Regions from separate parts of the Homo sapiens genome. Here regions 1, 2, 3 and 4 are each linked to region 5. Evidence: promoter capture Hi-C in human tissues and cell types (Jung and others, 2019). All regions are on one chromosome and are shown on one strand. Each heading gives the region's core, a stretch centred on a gene start or on the middle of the fragment in contact. The rest is flanking DNA. Distances are from core to core; before and after follow the strand shown. Region 1 holds the start of ZNF578 (zinc finger protein 578). Region 2 overlaps ZNF528 (zinc finger protein 528). Region 3 overlaps LOC122539214 (Zinc finger protein LOC122539214). Region 4 overlaps ZNF534 (zinc finger protein 534). Region 5 holds the start of ZNF808 (zinc finger protein 808).

The links. Contacts are between HindIII fragments. The study calls those that stand out against the background at their distance.
Region 1: a contact is called between the fragment with the promoter of ZNF578 here and the fragment with the promoter of ZNF808 in region 5, in 1 of the 25 tissues and cell types used here (stomach).
Region 2: a fragment that was not itself captured here is called in contact with the fragment with the promoter of ZNF808 in region 5 in 2 of the 25 tissues and cell types used here (adrenal gland and mesenchymal stem cells).
Region 3: a fragment that was not itself captured here is called in contact with the fragment with the promoter of ZNF808 in region 5 in 3 of the 25 tissues and cell types used here (IMR-90 fibroblasts, aorta and mesenchymal stem cells).
Region 4: a contact is called between a fragment that was not itself captured here and the fragment with the promoter of ZNF808 in region 5, in 2 of the 25 tissues and cell types used here (adrenal gland and pancreas).

Annotation. Positions count from the first base shown.
Region 1 is chr19:52,452,125-52,454,824 of GRCh38, reverse strand. ZNF578 (zinc finger protein 578) reads right to left here and starts at 1,272. Exons shown (of 6, transcript NM_001099694.2): 1 at 1,218-1,272. It also overlaps a transcript of ZNF534 not described here and the pseudogene LOC441862. RefSeq lists an enhancer at 631-1,830. The HindIII fragment of the contact is 17,654 bases long and covers 1-2,700 here.
Region 2 is chr19:52,414,969-52,417,668 of GRCh38, reverse strand. ZNF528 (zinc finger protein 528) reads right to left here. Exons shown (of 7, transcript NM_032423.3): 7 at 1-2,545. The coding sequence ends at 930. Among named protein-coding and RNA genes, the nearest start is that of ZNF534, 13 kb to the left of the region's middle. The HindIII fragment of the contact is 3,304 bases long and covers 1-2,700 here.
Region 3 is chr19:52,652,725-52,655,424 of GRCh38, reverse strand. It overlaps LOC122539214 (Zinc finger protein LOC122539214), which reads left to right. Exons shown (of 4, transcript NM_001396016.1): 4 at 1,022-2,700. It also overlaps a transcript of ZNF83 not described here. Among named protein-coding and RNA genes, the nearest start is that of ZNF83, 16 kb to the right of the region's middle. The HindIII fragment of the contact is 5,670 bases long and covers 1-2,700 here.
Region 4 is chr19:52,433,942-52,436,641 of GRCh38, reverse strand. It overlaps ZNF534 (zinc finger protein 534), which reads right to left. Exons shown (of 5, transcript NM_001143938.3): 3 at 2,561-2,687; 4 at 1,433-1,561. Among named protein-coding and RNA genes, the nearest start is that of ZNF534, 6.1 kb to the right of the region's middle. The HindIII fragment of the contact is 3,304 bases long and covers 1-2,700 here.
Region 5 is chr19:52,526,375-52,529,074 of GRCh38, reverse strand. ZNF808 (zinc finger protein 808) reads right to left here and starts at 1,407. Exons shown (of 5, transcript NM_001039886.4): 1 at 1,364-1,407. RefSeq lists enhancers at 1,134-1,961, 1,962-2,700. The HindIII fragment of the contact is 14,459 bases long and covers 1-2,700 here.

The sequences.
Region 1 (2,700 bases), core at 23-2,522, 74 kb after region 5:
CTAAAATTTAACTCAATTCTTACACTATCTACAAGGAGATAGTGTCAGATCCCATGGGTGAAAAGCTCAGTCCCACAAGACTACCCTTCACCTTAGAAGCTGTACACAAGTAGTAGTTTTCACCTCTACTTCTGACTGACCAGATAAACACCACGGTTCCCAAATCCTCTCCTGCATTCAACTAATTTTCTAGAACTGCTATTCCATCTGTCTATCTGCAACCTTTGTAATATCCTTTAAAACAAATGAGTAAACCCAACTAAAACGTTTCTGAGTTCTGTGAGCTACTCTGGCAAATTAATAAATACTGAAGACTGGGTCATGGGAATCCTCAATTTATATCCAGTAGCTTAGAAGTTCAGGTTCCAATCTGGGACTTGTAACCGACATCTGAAGTGGAGAAGTCTTGTGGACTGAGCCTTTAATCTGTGGGATCCGATGCTTACACCAGGTACAGCTGTCAGAAGTGAGGTAAATTATGGGACACCGAGTTGATGTCTGATAGAGAACTGCTTGTTAGTGGGGAGAAATCCCCACACATTCGGTGACCACAAGTGAAGTATTCTGGGTTCAGTGTTTACTACCGTGTTGAGTTTCAGAGGAGGAAAGAATAAATCAATCGTTTTTCCTCTGGAAGAGCACATTTTCCAGCGGGTGCAATTTGGAACGGAAAAACACTGAGTGTCAAAAGCCAGGCCCCGTCACCTCCCTCAATGCGGGGTAAGGAATGTGGGTTGTGAAGGGGAAACCTGGGGAACACAAGGGCCCAGCCCAAGGAGGACAAGGTTGGGGGTGGATTAGGAGAGGGGTGGGGTTTCCAAAATCCCAGGGCCGGGCAGAGGACACGGCGCTGATGCATCGAGACTGCGGGACCGAGCTCCAAGAGGCCAGAAGGGCGAGGCTTGGAGGACCCACTGGGCGTGAATACACCTCATGGGTGAGGGCTTTTACATGACGCGGGACCGAAGGAGTGGTCAGTAAAGGGTTTTAAGCAGGTAAACGGGACGAAAAGCGTCTACGTGGCCCGAAGGCAGAGAGCTCAGGGAAAGGACCAGCAGCCTCCAAGCGATTTTAACCTCCGAATTTCTTGGCGACGTATTAATATACCTAGGATGGAGGGAACGGCGGGAGGATTTTAAGATCCGTAAGAACCCCTCCGCCAACACCAGGTACAGAAGCGCTGGAAGCGGATCTAATCTAGACAAAGGGAAACTCACCCGCTGCTCCAAGACCGGCTCCCCACGCGATCGGCTTCCGGGTCTTCAGGAAACTGCGCTTGCGAGTTCACGCCCCATGATTCACTTCCGGGTTTCCAGGAAACCGCGCGCAGCTGAGGCCAGGGATGGGCGAGACCCGAGAGAAGAGAGGGTGGGGCGGTGAGGGGCGGGGTCTGCGCTGCCTTCGGCCTGTCTCTGGGCGCGTCTGTTCTCCAGGTTTTTGAGGAAAGACCCTATCGGTGACCAGCAGCCAAGCAGTCTGGGACCTGGGATCTCTATGAGAGGGTCAAAGTAGGGGACAGTGATTGGACCTAAGATAGTTCCTGCAATTAAAGTTAATTTTAGTATTTTAATTTAAAAGCCCTGGAATTGTCTGGGAGAGGAAGCGAACTAGAATATGAAATGCAAAGCCCTGCCTGGGCGGAACATGCAATTTGATGCTGTCGTCCCACAGAACAGAGTAGAAATCCTCTCCTTTTCTATTCCCCCTACACTCTGGAGGGTGAGGATCAACCCTGTGCTCAGCTCCTGACAATTTCCCAGGGACAACGCCTTGGGCATGGAGGGTTAACGCCAGGGATAAGTTAGGTCACCAAATGTTGCTTTTAAAAAGGAAAGCTAAAACTTTTAGATGATAGATATAAATGACTCTTAAACTTTTAAACAATAGATATAAATAGCTCTCCCTTATACCTGTTACTCTATTCCAAACTTCAGATGAATTAACCTCAAACGTCTCTGCGATAAACTTTATTGACATCATAATGTCAATAATTTCGATACGTAGAGTGAATTTCAAATTTACACGCACTCTGAATGTAAATAGAAAAGACGATTTTTGGCTGGGTGTGTTGGCTCATGTTTCTAATCCTAGCACTTTGGGAGGCTGAGATGGGAGGATCACTTGAGGCTAAATGTTCAAGACTAGCCTGGGCAACAGAGTGAGTCCCAGTCTCTCTTATAAAACACACAGGGCCAGGCACGTTGGCTCACGCCTGTAATCCCAGCACTTTGCGAGGCCGAGGCGGGCGGATCACCTGAGGTTGGGAGTTGGAGACCAGCCTGACCAACATGGAGAAATCCTGTGTCTTCTAAAAATACAAAATTAGCCGGGCGTGGTGGCGCATGCCTGTAATCCCAGTTACTCGGGAGGCTGAGGCAGGAGAATTGCTTGAACCCAGGAGTTGGAAGGTGCGGTGAGCAGAGATCGGGCCATTGCCATCCAGCCTGGGCAACAAGAGTGAAATTCCGTCTCCAAAAAAACAAAACAAAAAAAAGAAAACACACACACGCACAAAACAAAAACAAACTTTTTTTTTTAAGTTGCTGAAGGGGTATCATTTCTTGAGTTAAATAATACAGGATTTTTTTTTTAATCTGTAATTGATGTACATTTAAGAAGACACTGTTTACATCAGGTCACCACAAAGTAGATTTACAAATAACCATCAACTGCAGAAAAACAAAGTTTCTTTGTGATCCA
Region 2 (2,700 bases), core at 84-2,583, 110 kb after region 5:
CTCCAGCCTGGGCAACAGAGTGAGACTCTATCTCCAAAAAAAAAAAAGTCTACTTCTCATCAGTCTTTGCTAAACAGCAGGTACTGCTGTTCAATGGAGAAGGTGGCTACCTTTTTCCTTGCATTATTTCTACCATATAATCAGACACTAGCAACCTATTACTCTCTTCCCACTAATAACCTATGCCTTAAGATTACAGCATACTCTATTTCATGGTCAGTTGGTGGACACTGAAGCTCTGTGCACTTATGTCAGGAGAAAGTGTGCTAACTGCAACAGTATGATGACGGTCATCAGTTTTATGTTACTCTGCCCACCTCCATGCTCTCTAAATCAGACAATATTTAATCTCAAAAGGCAATGTCCTTCATCAGGAAATTGGATAGAAATAATCCTCAGCTAATGAAGTCAGCCCTGTCATCCTACTGATTCTTTCCCAGGGACCACAGTGAATGGCCTGTATGGAAGGCACATGAAAAGATTTCGAAGTCACAAAGAGTAAAGTAGCCTTTTCTATAAGCCCCAAATAATTGAATGCTTTATAGCCTGAATAAAACTGGTCATTTACAAGCCGTTGCACCTTTGATATACATCAGGTCATGAGATTCAACATATTTTGACTTAGCATTATTCTGCATCATGCAATATCATAGATTAGTATCAGAGAACCAGAGACAGAGTTACTTCTTGTGTAAATCCTATCGTGTTCTATAGCAATGGTCCTTGAATAATAGCCCAAGTACACACAATTCATCTGTGTGCTTTCATCCTCCACAGTGATGTGGTGATGTCCAGTGATTTGGCAGGCCTTGATAAAGCCTGTGTCACATACATTTCATTTATATGATTTCCACTTAGTATGGACTCACTGATGTTGATTAATGCTAGAACTCATGATGATGGTTTTGCCATACAGTTTGTAGGGACTCTCATGAATGAACTCTCTGATGCTGTGCAAGGTCAGAATTGTGACTGAAGACCTTACTGCACAGGGTGCATTTGTAAGGTTTCTCTCCAATGTGAATTCTATGGTGATTGGTGAGGGAAGACTTCTGAGTGAAGATCTTGCCACATTCTTTACACTCATGAGATTTCTTTTCAGTATGGATTGCAAGATGGGCAGTAAGGCCTGAACACCCTCGAAATGCTTTGCCACATTTACTACATCTGTAAGGCCTCTCTCCAGTATGAATTATTTGATGTCTTGTAAGGTATGATGCTTGATTAAAGACCTTGCCACATTGATTACATTTGTAAGGCTTTTCTCCTGTATGAATTTTCTGATGGCATACCAGGTTTGAACTGCGACTGAAGACCTTGCCACATCTGTTACATTTGTAAGGCTTCTCTCCAGTATGAATTCTATGATGACTGGTTAGAGAAGACTTGTACCTGAAGACTTTGCCACATTCTTTACATTCATAAGGTTTCTCTCCACTATGGATTAGAAAATGGGCAGTAAGGTCTGAAAACTCTCTAAACGCTGTGCCACATTTATTACATTTGTAAGGCTTCTCATCAGTATGAGTTTTTCGATGTCGTATAAGGTCTGATTTCTGACTAAAGATCTTGCCACACTGACTGCATCCATAAGGTCTCTCTCTAGTATGAATTCTCTGATGAGAGGTCAGGAAACACTTGCGCCCAAAGACCTTGTCACATTCTTTACATTTGTAAGGTTTCCTTCCAGTGTGAATTAACTGATGGGTTATGAGGCTGGAACGCACTGAAAATGCTTTGCCACATTCTTCACATTTGTAAGGTTTCTCACCAGTATGAACCGTTTGATGTTCTGCTAGATATGAATGGCGACTAAAGACCTTGCCACATTTATTACAACTGTAAGGTTTCTCTCCAGTATGAATTTTTTGATGTCGTACAAGGTGTGCAATTTGATTGAAGACCTTGTCACATTCATGACATTTGTAAGGCTTCTCTCCAGTATGAATTCTTTGATGTTGTGCAAGCTTTGAACTGCTTCGAAAGACCTTGTCACATTCATGACATTTGTAAGGCTTCTCTCCAGTATGAATTCTTTGATGTTGTGAAAGGTTTGAATTGCTACTGAAGAGCTTGCCACATTCATGACATTTGTAAGGCTTCTCTCCAGTATGCATTCTTCGATGTATCACAAGCTTTGAACTGCAACTAAAGACCTTGCCACATTCACTGCATTTGTAAGGATTATCTGCGTTATGGATTACTTGGTTAGTAAGGCTTGCAGATGCTCTAAAGACTTGGCCGTGCTCATTACATTTATAAGCTTTTTCCCTAATGTGTGCTTTCTGTTCTTGTGGAAGTAATGGAGCATGATCAAAATTATTTCTATATTTATTTAAAAGGTGGGATTTGACACTGGAAGAAATTTTTTCAAGCGGTGAAACTGAGGAATTGTCACTGACGGGTTTTTCAAAATGCTTACACCCAGAAATTTTCCTTTCAGCTTGAAATAGCTGTAGATCACTCAGATGTAACTGAAAAGTGAATCCAAGTTGATTTTTACAAGGCTTGTTTCCTGCATTACTTCCCAATTTAGAGCTCCTCTCTAAAACAGAAAGAAAAAAGTGGAACTTCAACCCATGATAATGGCATCTTTAGTGTCTGACAGAGGGTCTAGATTCTGCCTCACCTGACTCAGACATTGGTAGGAGTATCAGGGTATTGTGTGTATCATGCTGGCAGTGCAGAAAACACAAGGAA
Region 3 (2,700 bases), core at 113-2,612, 130 kb before region 5:
CTCCTGTCTGTCATAGACAGCTTCTTAGAGACTATCCTATGGAGTGGTTTTACATAAAAACAGAACATTCATGAACACTTTGACTAATAGAATTGAACGTCATCCTGCTCTAAGCAGAGATGCCCCTGGTAGCCCTGAGCAGAATTGTCAGGGTGGCCCAGGAGATGAGCTAGAAAGCATGACAGTGACTGACAAGTGTTTCCAGCTGTGATTCTGCTTTTGTTTTGTTTTGTTTTTTGAGACAGAGTCTCCCTCTCTTGCTCAGGCTGGAGTGCACTGTTGTGATCTCAGCTCATTGCAACCTCCGCCTCCTGCATTCAAGCAATTCTCATACCTCAGCCTCCCAACCTAACTGGAATTACAGATGCAAGTCACCATGCCTTGCTAATTTTTGTATTTTTATTAGAGATGGGGAATCACCATGTTGGCCAGGCTGGTCTCAAACTCCTTGTCTCAAGCAATCTGCCCACCTCAGCCTCTAGCCAAGTGTTGGGATTACAAACCTGAGCCACCACCCTTGGCCTTTTGTTCTGGTTTTTAAGGAGCATCACAGAAGCATCTCTCACTGGTACTGTGACAGTGATCATCACATAAACTAATGATCATGTTCTCTAAACAGCAGTCACTGCTGTAGAAATTCCTCTTAGGGAGGACATCATTCAGGCTTACTGCATCATATATATGAGGCTCTTGACTGAACTCTGTTTGACATGGAATTTTGCTCTTGTTGCCCAGGCTGGAGTGCAATGATGTGATCTCTGTTCACTGCAATCTCTGCCTCCTAGGTTCAAGAAATTCTCCTGCCTCAGCGTCCTGAGTAGCTGGGATTACAGGCATCCACCACCATGCCTGGCTAATTTTTGTATTTTTAATAGAGACAGGGTGTTCTTAAACTTTGAAGATCATATTTGGGAATTTTAAAATAAGTATTGCTTTTTGTGTAATATTAACACATTTCAGTATTAAATATTATTTACCATCTGTACTTAATTGGAAACCTATTGGTCTTTATATTTTTTAGATAGCTCTTTAAAATCCATGACGGAGTTCTCATCAACAGGGCACGGTAATACAGGAGAAGTGATCCACACAGGGACATTGCAAAGACATAAAAGTCATCACATTGGAGATTTTTGCTTCCCAGAAATCAAGAAAGATATTCATGACTTTGAGTTTCAGTGGCAAGAAATTAAAAGAAATGGCCATGAAGCACCCATGACAAAAATCAAAAAGTTGACTGGTAGTACAGACCGACGTGATCAAAGGCATGCTGGAAACAAGCCTATTAAAGATCAGCTTGGATCAAGCTTTTATTCACATCTGCCTGAACTGCACGAATTTCAGACTGAAGGGAAAATTGATAATCAAGTGGAGAAGTCTATCAACAATGCTTCCTTGGTTTCAACATCCCAAAGAATTTCTTGTAGGCTCAAAACCCATATTTCTAATAGGTATGGGAAGAACTTTCTCCATTCTTCATTATTGACACAAATCCAGGAAGAACACATGAGAGAAAAACCTTTCCAATGTAATGAGTGTGGCAAAGCCTTTAATTATAGCTCACATTTAAGAAGACATCATGTAACCCATTCAGGAGAGAAACAATATAAATGTGATGTATGTGGCAAAGTGTTTCATCAAAAGCAATACCTTGCATGGCACCATAGAGTTCATACTGGAGAAAAACCTTACAAGTGTAATGAGTGTTCCAAGACCTTCGGTCACAAGTCATCTCTTACACGCCATCATAGACTTCATACTGGAGAAAAACCTTACAAGTGTAATGAGTGTGGTAAGACCTTCAGTCAGACGTCATCCCTTGTAGGGCATCGTAGACGTCATACTGGAGAGAAACCTTACAAATGTGAAGGATGTGACAAAGTTTACAGTTGCAGATCACAACTTGAAACACATAGGCGAATTCATACTGGAGAGAAACCATACAAATGTAAGGTTTGTGACAAAGCTTTTAGGCATAATTCATGCCTTTCACGCCATAACAGAGTTCATACTGAAGAGAAACCTTACACATGTAATGAATGTGGCAAGGTTTTCCAGCGTGATTCATACCTTGCACAACATCAGAGAGTTCATACTGGAGAGAAACCTTACACATGTAATGAATGTGGTAAGGTTTTTAATCAAAAAGCACACCTTGCATGTCATTATAGGCTTCATACTGGAGAGAAACCTTACAAGTGTAATGAGTGTGGCAAGACCTTCAGTCAGAAGTCATCCCTTGTGGGCCATCGTAGACTTCATACCGGAGAAAAACCTTACAACTGTCATGAGTGTGGCAAGACCTTTGCTCGAAATTCATCCCTTCTAATTCATAAGGCAATTCATACTGGAGAGAAACCTTACAAGTGTAATGAATGTGGCAAGGTTTTTAATCAACAGTCAAACCTTGCACAACATCAGAGAGTTCATACTGGAGAGAAACCTTACAGGTGTAATGAGTGTGGCAAGACCTTCAGTCATATGTCATCCTTTGTATACCATTATAGACTTCATAGTGGAGAGAAACCTTACAAGTGCAATGAGTGTGGCAAGACCTTCAGTCATATGTCATCCTTTGTATGCCATCATAGACTTCATACTGGAGAAAATCCTTATAAGTGCAATGAGTGTGGCAAAGCCTTTAGTGGGCAGTCATCACTTATTCATCATCAAGCAATCCATGGTATAGGGAAACTTTAC
Region 4 (2,700 bases), core at 201-2,700, 92 kb after region 5:
AAAACATGATGAAGAAAACCTTACAAACCCTAATACATTTTTGAGAGACTATAAGGTGGAACAATATACAAACTATTGGAGGTTCATATGAAGATGACAAAGGATGAAAAGCCACAACTGAAGAAATAATGTTAAAACATCACACATCTGAGGAAAGAACTGAATATACAAATTCAAGAAGCTTGACCATTACTAAAATTAGCCCAAAGACATTCACACAGGGACATAATATAAGGAAATTATCAAAAGTCAAAGAGAGACAGAGACAAAGTTTGATAGCATCAACAAAAAAAGAGACTTGACATATAATAGGAAACTGTATAAGTCTATGTGTATTTTTCCAGCAGGTATCTTCAGGGTAGAAGGCAGTGAAGTGATACTGAAAGTGCTTAAAGAAAAATAAGGGCCGGGCACGGTGACTCATGCTTGTAATCCCAGAACTTTGGGAGGCTGAGGTGTGTGGATCATGAGGTCAGGAGATTGAGAACATCCTGGCTAACACGGTGAAACCCCGTCTCTACTAAAAATACAAAAAAAATTAGCCAGGCATGGTGGCGGGAGCCTGTAGTCCCAGCTACTTGGGAGGTTGAAGCAGAAGAATGGCGTGAACCCAGGAGGCAGAGCTTGCAGTGAGCCAAGATCATGCCACTGTACTCCAGCCTGGGTGACAGAGTGAGACGGTCTCAAAAAAAAAAAAAAAAAGAAGAAGAAGAAAAATAAGAAAAACATCAATGAAGAATACTATATTTAGTAAAACTCATCTACAAAAATAATTCAGGCTTTCCTAGATAAAGAAGAACTGAGAAAGTTAATTAGAACTCAAAAATCATTATGTGAGGCTGGGCACAGTGGCTCATGCCTGTAATCCCAGCACTTTGGGAGGCTGAGGTGGGTGGATCACTTGAGGTCAGGAGTTCAAGTACAGCCTGGGTAATATGGCAATACTCCATCTCTACTAAAAATACAAAAAACTAGATAGGCATGGTGGTGTACACACAGAGTCCCAGCTATTCAGAAGGCTGAGGTGGGAGAATCACGTGAGCCCCAGAAGGTGAGGCTGCAGCCAGCCATAATCATGCCACTGCACTCCAGCCTGGGTGACAGGAGAGAGACGCTATCTCAAAACAGAAAAAAGAAAATGAAAAATGTCTGTTCACAACTCAAAGGATTTCAGCTTTGGTTTTCCCACAGAATTCACCCACTTGCAGAGTTTCCCAAACACTATGTAATAGTGTGGCTCTGCAGAGTATAGTGGCTCAAGCCTGTAATCCCAACACTTTGGAAGACCAAGCCAGAAGGATCCCTTAAGTCCAGGAGTTTAAGGCTGCTGTGAGCTATGATTGCCACTGTACTCCAGCCTGGATGACAGAGTGAGACCCTTCTCAAAATACAAAAATTATGGGGCCTCCACTCTGCCCACCTGAGCTCTCACCTGTGTTCACACCTTTGATGCACTCCCTGCCATCTGGATTGTTTATTATTTTCACTTCACTCTGCAGAGTCCAGGGATCTCTCTTTTGCTCCAACATGGAGGTAACACTCAGGTCAGGAAGACAGATTCCTACTTACAAAAAGAAAGAATAAATGTGTGCTGTGGCATCTCCAAAGTCCAAGCCCTATATTTAGGTAGGAGACAGCATATTACAAATTAATCAAGAATAATATTTCACAAATTCAACCACTGATTGCATCCTTCTGAATGCTAAGGGAACATTGTAACATGTAGACGTCAAGCCCCCTTTCAAGAACTACTGAATCAAAAGCACATGGGTAGAAAACAGGGAACTGGATATTTTTTAAGTCTGTCATAAGGTTTCATGCACACTTCAGCCCTGGTGCCATCAATGATGAATCATGAAGGAAGCAGAATATCTGAAGAAAGGGGACATTTCTTTCTTTTTTTTTTTTTTTGAGACAGAGTCTCACTCTGTTGCCCAGGCTTGAGTGCAGTGGCATGATCTCAGCTCACTGCAGCCCCTGCCTCCCAGGTTCAAGTGATTCTCCTGCCTCAGTCTCCCGAGTAGCTGGGACTACAGGCATGTACCACCATGCCTAACTAATCTTTGTATTTTTAGTATGGATGGGGTTTCACCAGGTTGGTCAGGCTGGTGTAAGGGGACATTTCAAGTTCAGAAAGCATAATGCTTTTCATTTCTTTTTTTTTTTTTTTTTTTTTTGAGACGGAGTCTTGATCTGTCACCCAGGCTGGAGTGCAGTGGTGCGATCTTGGCTCACTGCAAGCTCCGCCTCCCGGGTTCACGCCATTCTCCTGTCTCAGCCTCCCGAGTAGCTGGGACTACAGGCACCCTTTTTTGTATCTTTAGTAGAGATGGGGTTTCACCGTGGTCTCGATCTCCTGACCTCGTGAACCATTTGCCTCGGCCTCCCAAAGTGCTGGGATTACAGGCGTGAGCCACTGCGCCTGGCCTGCTTTTCATTTCTTAGTCAACAGGTTTCAATCTCAGTCAAGCAATGCAGGGGCTCCCGAGAGACACACAAGAGAAAATGCAAAAAGATATACCAGAGCAGATGCAGGCTTCTGGACGGACATTATCCTCACCTAGGGAGACCAGGTTCCTGTAGTTCTCTAACATCACGTCCCTGTATAAAGCTTTCTGCCCAGGGTCCAGGCATTTCCACTCCTCCTGAGAGAATTCTATGGCCACATCGCTGAATGACAATTGCCCCTAAAAGGAAATC
Region 5 (2,700 bases), core at 158-2,657:
GCTTCCCTCCCTAATTCTGTACATATCTCTCATTCTCCCCCTTCTCTCTCTAGCTCTTGTTTTCTTTTCTTTCTCCCTGGGATTCTGCTCTTCATTTTGTACCCCTCTTCTCTTCTGCTGTTTATCCCCCTTCTTCCCTCTATTCCTTCTCTTCCATCTCTTCTGCTCCATCCTCGCAACTTATTTAACCTCTTATTGCTCCTTCTCCCCAATCTTTCAATCGTCCTCAATCTCCATCTATTTCTGCCTCTTCACCCATCTCTGCGCCTCCTCTGCTCTCCCTGTTAAATTCTCTCTTCCCTGATATACTCCCCTGTCCCCACTCTGTGTCACCCCAGATCCCCAGGTGTCCTCCCTGCTGTGTTTCTCCCTCGGTTCTCCTTGACACCAGCACCACTCTGCTCTGTCTGCCCTGGCTCCAAATCCCTCCCTCTCTCCCTCACTCTGATGAGCCTCCCTCTTTGCTGCCACTCTCCCTACCTTGCCGTCCTTCATCTCTGTGTACATCTAGCTTTTCTCTACATTTCTCCAGTTGCTTTTCTCCACCTGCTTTTCTAGGTATTTTGTTGCTTTCTTTTTCCACTTTCACCATATCTTGGCATATCCCTCACCAATCCTCTATTTTGCCATCTGTTATGGGCCTTTCTTATTCTTTCTCTGTCTCAGGTTTTCTACTGCTGTCTGTCTCCTGATCCCTTCGGCCCACACAATCGCAGGAGGGTTTGGAGTAAGACGCCTGCATCCCGGAGGAGCGCGTTTTCCAAGGGCTGGAGCTCGGCAGGCAAGAAGACCCCATGTCACAGGACAGGGCCCTGCGTCCTTCCCAGTGTGGGTTCAATGGAAGCGGTGACTGCGGAGGAGAGACCTGGGGAGCCGCAGGCTCTGGCACGAGTAGGGAGGTGGGAGGAGGGGGGACGGCGCCTTGGGAGAAGGATGGGGTCTGCAAGATCCCAGGACCAGGCAGAGGACGCGGCCTCCCTGGGACTGGGGCTGCGGCGCGACGCTCCAGGGGCCGACGAGGGGTGGCTGGGAGGTGCGCCCCGGGCAAGAATCCACCTCGTGGGTGAAGACTTTAAATAGCGCGAGGAGGGAAGAGTCAGAAGAAGGTTTTGAGCAGAAAAACTACGCAATAGAAAGTGTATACATTGCCCTATAGCAGACAGACCCGGGACGGGACCAGCCTCCAGACGACTTTAAACCCGAAAGGAAGCGACACCCGGCCTCTCACTGGGCTGTCTCAATTTGCTCTGGGCGAAGGAAGACGGGCGAGAATTTCCAGGTCTGTGGGGACCCCACGTCCCAGGGACAGAAGCGGCGGGGACCTGGGAAGCGGAGACTTAATGCAACACAGAGCAAAACTCACCATGGCGACGTGACCTTCACTCCACCCGATCCGCTTCCGGGTTTGCGTTAATCTCCGCGCGCAGGACGGAAGCCAGGCCTGGGCGGGAGGTGGGAGGAGGTGGGCGGGGCCTGGGCGAGGTAGCGGCGGGGCGCGAGGCGCTGAGACCTTGCCCTTTAGAACCGGCAGAGGGCGGGGCCGGGGCGGGGCCGGGGCGGGACTTGCGCGTCTTTCAGCCTCTCTCCTAGCGTCTCTGTTTTTAGGTTGTGGAGGCGAGAGCGCCAGAAAGTCTGAGGCATGATTCCAAAGCCCTGGAATTGTCTGGAACCGGGATGCAAACTAGAATGTGAAATGCAAAGCCCTGCCTGGGCGGCATGTACGATGTCATGGTGACGGCCCACGGAACAGAATAGATGTCCTCTCCCTTTCTATCTCCATTCACTAGGGAGGGAGAGTCCACCCTGAGCTCAGCTTCAGAGACTTCCTTAAAGCCACCGCCAGGGGTGCGGGACGGAGTGCTTAGGCCAGGAAGGAGTGAGGTCACCACCTGCTGCTTAAACACAGCAGAGGCGCGGGGGCGGGAGCCTCAGGTCCCAGCTACTCAGGAAGCAACGGAGAGAATTGCTGAGCCTGGGGTCCCAAGCCAGCCTGGGCGACAAAGTAACACCCACTGCGGCAGGTCTCCCTTCCTAGTCTCTCTCTCTCTCTTTCCCTTTTTTTTTTTTTGGAGACAGAGTCTCACTCCGTCGCCCAGGCTGGAGTGCCGTGGAGTGATCCCAGCTCACTAGAACTTCCGCCTCCTGGTTTCAAGCGATACTCCGGCCTCAGCCTCCCGAGTAGCTGGGACTACAGGCATGCGCCACCATGCCCAGTTAATTTTGTATATTTAGTAGAGACAGGGTTTCACCATGTTAGCCAGGCTGAACTCCCGACCTCAGGTGATCCGCCCACGTCGGCCTCCCAAAGTGCTGGGATTACAGGCGTGAGCCACCGCGCCCGGGCCTTTTCCCTTTTTAAAAAAAAAAAAAAAACTTTTTTAAATAAAATTTTTGATGGTGTGACATAGGGATCCAACATTACTCTTTTCCATGTGGATATCCAGTTAGTTGTCCCAGCACATTTGTGGAAGAGATCTATTACTTTATTATTATTATTATTATTATTACTATTATTGAGACACAGTATTTCTGTTGCCCAGGCTGGAGTGCAGTGGCGAGATCTCAACTCAATGCAGCCTCTGCCTCCTGGGTTCAAGCGATTCTCCTGCCTCAGCCTCGGGAGCAGCTGGCATTACAGGCGCGTGCCACGATGCCCGGTTAATTTTTGTATTTTTCATAGAGACGGGGTATCACTACGGT